Regions from separate parts of the Homo sapiens genome. Here regions 2 and 3 are each linked to region 1. The links are contacts of gene promoters, found by promoter capture Hi-C in blood cells and fetal thymus (Javierre and others, 2016). All regions are on one chromosome and are shown on one strand. Each heading gives the region's core, a stretch centred on a gene start or on the middle of the fragment in contact. The rest is flanking DNA. Distances are from core to core; before and after follow the strand shown. Region 1 holds the start of KRTAP13-2 (keratin associated protein 13-2). Region 2 overlaps LOC105372774 (a long non-coding RNA gene). Region 3 has its middle 16 kb from the start of KRTAP19-8.

Region 1 (2,732 bases), core at 153-2,652:
TGCTCTCTCTCTCTTTCTCACACACACACAACACAAACACACACACACACTGAATAATTAATTTTCTCCTATATTTAAACACAACCGTAATGTCCTCCAGTACCTAACATTTCATATTTTCCCTTTTCCATCATAACATTTCAGATTTATTCAAATATTTCATAATTTTATATTTAATCACCTAGTTGACATCTTCTGAGAAAACTCTAAATACTCTTTTAAAAATGTAAACAAAAAGCAAATATGATTGTCAGCAAAATGTGTCTTCCTTGAAAACACACCACCATTATGAGTGTACTCTCAATAATTCTGTTAAGAATCCAACCAGTTTTCATGGCAGAAGACATGCACTTGCTCAGTCTTTTAGGCACTGGCATGCCCGGAGAATCTCCCCACACACTAGGCCTGATGACATTACCGATGGAAATGGATGTCCAAGGAAAAGACGTCTGGGGGCCTGGAGCCCCCAAAACAGATCACAAATCAAACTTTGGAAACCAATAAAAGACAAAGAGAACATATTGGAATCAACAGTAAATGAATTTATTACGTGAAACAAAACTGAACTTCCATATACTTTATAAGATGAACTTACGTGATAACGAATCACTTGTTTCAAAATTATAGACATTTGACTCTATATTTTGCTCATTCATTAATTTCACAGTCTGAAAGAACTAGCCTGTCCAGCCAGTACTTGATGCCAGAGAAAGGATGAAGAGCTAGTAGTAAGAGGGGTTAGCTCACATTGCTGGAAATGCCTATGATAACAGCTCTACGTAGAGACTGAGACACTTTGCTTAAAAGGTCTGGAAATTCAGCAAGTTGATCTGCAGAAGGTTGATCCATAGGCTGGTCTGTAACAAGGAGACTGGCAGCTCCTAGAAGCCAAGTAGGTTGGGCGGCAGAATCCAGATCCATAGCCGAGGGAAGGGAAGCCACAGCTTCCATAACCCAGGGATCTGACACCACTGGACCCACAGCCCACTGAGTAGCAGCTCCTCGATCCATAGCCCAGGGAGCGGCAGCTGCTGGATCCAAAGCCTAGAGACCCAGAGTAAGTCGTCTTGCAAGGACTGCAGAGCAAGGAGGTTCTGGGGCGGTAGCAGGAGGTCTGGCAGGGGCTGGACTCCACATAGGACGTCTGGCAGCTGGTGGGCTCCCAGCAGATCTCCTGACAGCCCCTATAGAGAGAGGAACCCAGCTGGCAGGTGCTGGGAGAGCAGAGGTCAGTGCTGTAGACCAGATTGCTGGGGTAGGAAAAGCCACGTGAGGATGCTGGGTAGCGCAGGTAGTCACCACAGGAGCGGGAGGAGAAGTTTCCAGAGCAGCAGTTGTAGGACATGTTGACGGGAGATGTGAGTTCAGCTGAGTTATAGTGGAAAGATTCTCTGAGTTTGAATGTCATAGTCTGGACTCCAAGTTATATATGCTCTTAGACCTGGGTGTGTCCACTGTCTCGACACTCCCTTCTCCTTGCTCACTTTTTATTATAAGAATGCTTCCCTAGGTTATTGTTTAATTTATCACATCTTCATATACTTACTTGTACTTTAGTCACTCTGGAACACTTAGAAGGAAGCCACTCAGTTTTTTTTTTTCCTGGAATTCACTGTGGTTTGACCTTCAATGTTATATGTCATCACATTTATGAGTATCTTGCCTCTTATTATTTGAGTACAGTGAGTCCTTATTGTACCAAATGGAATTACACAAAATTCTTTCTTTACTTCCCTTAAGTTATCAGGAGCATCAGTGGTTACTACTCAAAATAGATTGTCCTTCTTTTTAACACAAGCATATTATTTGTTACCAGAAACGGAGGATTTCTCCAAATACTAACTGTATTCAGTAGCCTCAGCAATCTGTCAGTTAAACCTTTTACTAGTACCTTAAGAGCTCAGGATCAGAACTGAGGAGTGCAGCATTATGTTGGGTGTCCATATCAGGCATCTTCCTTAACAAGAGGCTACTTTAGACAATGCTCACTTAGGAAACAATAAACACAAACTTTTTAGTAAGACTTTAAATTGAAGTTTTTCAGATATTTTCTGATGAACCTATCTTGTAGCAAGCACTATTCTATGGTTATGCTCTAAATCAACTCATAAATTTTATTTTGTTTTATGTTTCAATTTTTTTTTCTGGATAAAAGGACAGATTCTTAGCTGCAATTATTAATTTATACTTAAACTTTGAGGAATTGTTAACATTTTTCTGAAGCTTTTAACTTGAAGTATTAGAGTTATATGGGTCTTTAAACATCCCCTGTTCAACCCATACATGGAAAAATTACCTCTCAGAGAGCTTTAACTTTCCCCTAATTTCTCAGTAAGATAGAAGCAAAATTGAAGCTTTAATTATGGTTTTCTTATTCAGAGTCAAGTTGCAAATACCTTGCAAATATAAAAGTAAATTCAACTTTAACTTGTCTCAGAAAAGAAACTATTAAGCTTATTTATACTAAGATATAAAAGCCTAACAAAGCCTTATTTACTTTTCCTAACAATATTCACACTGAATAGTGTTCAACTGGGGAATTCTATGCCTTACTGATCTTCATACATTTGAAGTATATTTCACTTCCTAGCCCAAGAAAGAGAAAGAATATTGGTAATCCATGTTTAGATTAATGGGGGGAAGAGGCTTCTTATCTGTGTCTATTCTTCTTCTTTTGAATTTGACATTTTATTTGGTTTAACTAAGGGAAATGGCATTCACAATGGTTATCG
Region 2 (2,779 bases), core at 200-2,699, 660 kb after region 1:
TTTGAAAGGATGAATGAATGAATAACATTGAAAGTCATCCCCAAAACATACTATAAAGCTGTATTTGGCCCTGTTTTGTCAATGTTTCTTTCATTGACTTGGGCCAATGAGATTGTGTTAATGAATTTACCCAAACTGACTTGGGTCAATGAACAAAAACGGAGAAGCAATGTACATTAAAGAGATAAGTGAAATAAAGCTGGGCCAAACATTGGGTAACACAGCCGAAATTAAGAAGAGTCATGGCAAACTAAAAAAAAAACAAGCATTTCAATCAACTAAAATGAAGATTAATTAGTTTCCTTAATGACTTCGGCAGCTAGGAACCTCAGAGCTAGGTTTTTCTTAACTCAATTACAGTTTTCCCTTAGCCTAGGTTATCTAGCATAGTTGCCCTGCCTCTTGTCCTTTGTCTCTAATGCTTGATGGTTTTAATGTGATACTTTGTTTTACTGTAAATCACCTGAAAGCTTATTAGGACGTACACAAGATATAAAATATGACAAAATGGAAAAAAATCTGTTTTCTAAAATTTCTGGGGTCCTAAAGAAAAGAGCAGAAAGGGATTTTTCTCAAGGAGATCCAGAAACAGAATCACTTTCTTAAAGATTCACATAATGAATGGGTCACACATGGAGAGTGTGAGCTTGGGCAAAGCTAGGCTGGAATAGGCTCCAAGGCAAGATGGTGGAGGAAATGGCCTTACCTGATCATTTTTCCATCACACTCTGTGCCCCTCCCACCCTGAAACTTCAGTGAAAGTCCTAATCTGCCAAAATGCTATTATGTAAATGGGATTTTTTTTTCTTGGTGCAGATGGTTAAGGCCAGGTGGAGAAAGAAGATGGCACAAACTGAGTTACATAGACAGAAATGGGAGTAAGGAAAAGAGAGACTTTGAGCTATTATACATCTTTGAATGCTTTTATCATAATTGATGAGACACAGGAAGATGCCACAGGAAGACTGAAAAAATAAATTAATAATTATCAGATAAGCTTTAGTTCCTACCCTCATGTACCCTAAACCATTTGGCAAGGTTAGTCCTGAAGAAATTCATCCATTTAATGAGGGATTCAGTGCTCTCTCTCTAGATTTATTTTTAAAACCTAAGATTTTGAAAATATAGACATCTTTGTTATGTTTATAAGATTTAAAATTCAAATATTTTGTAGATTTAATACCTGTAACATATAATGATATGAAAGTACATAGATATATGAATCTAGATACTTAAGACCTGGAGTTCCAATAAGGCAGCTTGTACCGTTTTAGAGTGACAAAAAAGGTATCAGCCTAGAAAAACTTTCTATCAAGTGTGGAAAATTTACCCTGATCTTTCCACATCTCCATCATATGCATGTTTGAGCTACAATAAATTTAAAACAGAAATGGAGCAAGGGGTCCCTAAGATATGCAAAACAATCCAGAAAAGTAACTGTGGAAAGACCACCAATTCTCCCTTTTCGGGGCACACAGAGACAAAAGGTTGAATACTTGCTAATGGGAAAAGGAGCAGAACTAATATGTTTCATCTCATCCAAAGCAGTCAAAGGCAGCTATGTTTTCTCTATGTTCTCTTCTCTCCCTTTAGTGTGGCTGGAACAATGAGATAGCAGAGCTGTAAGACATAGCAGCCCAGATCCCTGAGTCACTATAGGAGAGCTCCAAGGAGAAGTGACTCACTGAGTAAGACTTAGACAAGAGTCATAAATAACTTTACTGGATTAAGCCTGAGATTTGAGGGTGTACTTGTTACTGCAGCATAGTCTGTATTATCCTGACTAATACCAAAACATTATTCCAAATCATAAACACAAATATTTCCTGATCTGAAGTCAATTGGGATTCAACTGTTTCAAATTACCTACAACACAAATTAGACATTATAGAGGAACTAGCAAAAGCTTACTTCTTTATTTATAGATATTTATCATCTACTGTCAACTAATAATAGATAAGAAAATAGCCAATAAATCAGGGACATTTACAAAATGCACAGAGATTTTGTTTTGTTTTACTACTTCCAAGCACCTCCCAGATAGTAGTCACCAAAGTTTAATTTAAAAAATATGAATTTTGGCTGGATGCAGTGGCTCACACCTGTAATCCCAGCACTTTGGGAGGCTGAGGCAGGTGAATTGCTTGAGCTCAGGGGTTCAAGACCAGTTTAGGCAACATGGTGAAACCCTGTCTCTACCAAAAATACAAAAATTAGCCGGGCATGGAGGTGCATGCTCCCCAGCTACTCAGGAGGCTGAGGCATGAGAATCACTTGAGCCCAGGAGGCAGAGGTTGCAGTGAGCCGAGATCATGCTACTGCACTCCAGCCTGGGTGACAGAGTAAGACCTGTCTCAAAAAATAAAATAAAAATAAAAAAATACTAATTTTAAGCAACACTGAAAAATTATTCCTAACCAATGTTCTGAACCTTATCAGACCCCAGCTTATTTTGCCACATAGGATTAGTGCCAATTAGGTTCCAGCACAAACAGGTGTTTTTAAAGCCTCCAGTCCTGGCATCATGGGGGGTAGAGAATGTCATCTCTCTCTGGGTCATCCGAATCGTTCTTAAAGGCTTCCTTTAAGACGTGAGCTTGGCATTCTATTTAGCTGGTGAATTGGGGATGAATGTACATTTTTCTTCTAAGCCTTGAAAGTTTAATCCATTCTGTGCAAGATAAATCTCAGCAGGCATTTGGGGAAAGTTGAATTTACTGAGAGGTTCATATGTGGTACATTATTTTTGTCAAATAGAAGATACTAGCTGCCAATGGGG
Region 3 (2,700 bases), core at 111-2,610, 680 kb after region 1:
GATAAATCATAATGGGCTAAATGAGTGCCGGAGTGATCCATGAGTAAGCATCTGAGAGAGGCAGTGGAAGGATGGGGGGGCAAGAGGAAGTGGTTCCATCAGCTGCCACTTACTCTTTTTCTCACAGTATACCTTCTCTTGTCAATTTTTGTTTTGTTTCTTTGAGACAAGGTCTTGCTCTGTCACCCAGGCTAGAGTGCAGTGGCGCAATCTTGGCTCACTACAGGCTCAACCTCCCAGGCTCAAGCAATTCTGCCTCAGGCCCTCAAATAGCTGGGACAAAAGGCACGCACCTCCATGTCTGACTAATTTTTGTATTTTTTGTAGAGACGGGGTCTTGACTTGTTGCCCAGGCTGGTCTCGAACTCCTAGGCTCAAGCAATCTGGCCACCTCAGTCTCCCAAAGTGCTGGGATTACAGGTTGAGCCACCACACCCAGCCTGTTTGTCAGTTCTAATAAAATTTCCCTGTGTGGAAGACTTGTAGGGGAGGAGACAAGAGGGAATTTCTGATTTTCATTGAGTCCCACTGTGCCCTCGGGATGATCCTGGGTCGTACACAGCCCAGAGCCCAACTCTGGCCATAGGAACATTGTTATAGGCTGAACTATTAACTTCCCAAATTCACATGTTGAAGCCCTAACCTCCAGAACCCAAGAATGTGATTGCATCTGGAGATATGGCCTGGAAAGAGATGATTAGGTTAAAGAGGTTGGTAGGGTGGGACCTAACAAAATCTAAGTGGAGTTTGTATAAGAAAAGGATATTTGGTGGTCGGGTGCGGTGGCTCATGCCTGTAATCCCAGCACTTTGGGAGGCCGAGGAGGGCAGATCACGAGGTCAGGAGATCGAGACCATCCTGGCTAACACAGTGAAACCCTGTCTCTACTAAAAAATACAAAAAAAAAAAAAAAAATTAGCCCAGCATGGTGGCGTGTGCCTGTAGTCCCAGCTACTCGGGACGCTGAGGCAGGAGAATCATTTGAACCCGGGAGGCAGAGGTTGCAGTGAGCCGAGATCGTGCCACTGCACTCCAGCCTGGTCGACAGAGCAAGACTCCATCTTTAAAAAAAAAAAAAAAGGATATTTGGGCACACAGAGAAACACTAGGAATGTGCACACATGGAGAGAAGACCACACGAGTTCACAGCAAGGAGGTGGCCCAGCTACAAGGCAAGGAGAGAGGCCTTAGAAAAAAACAATCCCACTGGCCTTGATTTTGGAGTTCCAGCCTCCTGAACTGTGAGAAAATAAATTTCTGTTGTTCAAGCCACCCAGTCTGTAGCATTTTTTTATCGCAGCCTGAACAGACTAATACAAACATTAATAGTCTTATTACATCATGGATAACTTCAATAGACAATGGTAAGTTGGACAGAGCAGACCTCCATCCAGGGAAATGCTGTGGGCGGGGGTAAAGGACACAGATTTTGCAATGATATCCCAAAGCCACCACTTGCTCCCTTGGGCATGTTACTTAACCTGTGAATCCATATCCTCTTCTATGAAATGACACTCATGGAAGGATCACAGGAGATAAGGTTTATAAAAGCATTTTTCATAGTTCTTAAAGGTCACTGCTCAACACATGCCAATGCCCTGCCCTCATCTTTCTGTCCAACTCGGTTACATAGGAGTAGTAAGGCCCTGGTTCTAAGAGAATTGGAAAATGCCAGATAGATTAGTAAAAATTATTGAGTGAAATAAATGCATATAAGCCTGAGTGTGTGCACAAATGCATGGATGAGGTTCCTAACATAAGGCAGGTGTGGCTGTTCTCTGAGCCTATTGTGTAAGTGTAAGCCTGGGATCCATTCTAATGAGTGGTTTTGTGCTATAATTGTAGTTGGATAGTCTGACTAACACCAGAGGCCACAGGTGACCCTGGTGGAACATTTGGAAGAAAAAGCCAGAATTTGATGGAGTACTTCACCAGTTTCCAAATGCCAAATAGAACTAAAATCGTATTACCGGCCAAGTAAAGAAGAATCCAGCTGAATTATTAAGAACATGAGTCATTTTGAGGCTCCTTGGAATTAACCATGTCTCTGAGAATTCACATTCTTTTGTAAAGATCTCCCTTAAATAACTATTTTAGTGTTACCTTTCCAAGGAGAAGAGACCTCTTAAAATCCCTTGGTTCCTGTTGAGCTGCCAGATCCCGAGGTGATCAAACAGGACAACAAGCCAAACTGAAAGAAACAACCAGGCCTTTATTCATTTACCACGAGAGTGAAGGCAAGAGACAAACAGAAAAAGGAAGGAGGGGGAAGAACTAGGGTTAAAAAGTACTGGGTCAGAGTACCCAATGGAGAGAAGAGTCTTAGTCAAGGTCCCCCTATAAGGAACATCTTGGTGGATGTACCTGAAAAGTGCCCCCGCCTCTAGCAGGGCTATAGATAAGGAGGACCCCAAATAGAGATGTCTTGGCTATGAATGCAAATATCTGTAAGTATGAGCAGTAAGTGTGGAGGGACTTGAATCCTTGACTGCACCTCCCTCCTCCAGACACTACGATGTGGGGAGGACAACTCTCTCCCATGAGACCTGCCAGGAAAAGCCTTGCAATTGCCTTTGGTCAGACCTGAGAGATCATACCTAGGACTTCAACCTGGAGCTGGACTCTTCACTATTGATAAGATCTCCACCACACGTTGGTCTGAAGCCATGGGTCTTAACCTTAGAGTCTGGAATTACTAGA

Evidence for each region. Contacts are between HindIII fragments. The CHiCAGO score rates a contact against its expected background, and 5 or more counts as called.
Region 2: a fragment that was not itself captured here is called in contact with the fragment with the promoter of KRTAP13-2 in region 1 in 1 of 17 cell types (activated CD4 T cells); the score reaches 5.5 in activated CD4 T cells.
Region 3: a contact is called between a fragment that was not itself captured here and the fragment with the promoter of KRTAP13-2 in region 1, in 4 of 17 cell types (naive CD8 T cells, M1 macrophages, activated CD4 T cells and 1 more). The highest score is 6.4, in naive CD8 T cells.

What each region holds. Positions count from the first base shown.
Region 1 is chr21:30,370,869-30,373,600 of GRCh38, forward strand. It overlaps KRTAP13-2 (keratin associated protein 13-2), which reads right to left and starts at 1,403. Exons shown (of 1, transcript NM_181621.4): 1 at 522-1,403. The coding sequence starts at 1,345. The coding sequence ends at 818. The HindIII fragment of the contact is 2,756 bases long and covers 1-2,221 here.
Region 2 is chr21:31,032,861-31,035,639 of GRCh38, forward strand. LOC105372774 (a long non-coding RNA gene) reads left to right here. Exons shown (of 3, transcript XR_937657.2): 2 at 1,594-1,688. Among named protein-coding and RNA genes, the nearest start is that of KRTAP19-8, 4.2 kb to the right of the region's middle. The HindIII fragment of the contact is 909 bases long and covers 996-1,904 here.
Region 3 is chr21:31,052,950-31,055,649 of GRCh38, forward strand. No RefSeq gene overlaps it. Among named protein-coding and RNA genes, the nearest start is that of KRTAP19-8, 16 kb to the left of the region's middle. The HindIII fragment of the contact is 7,679 bases long and covers 1-2,700 here.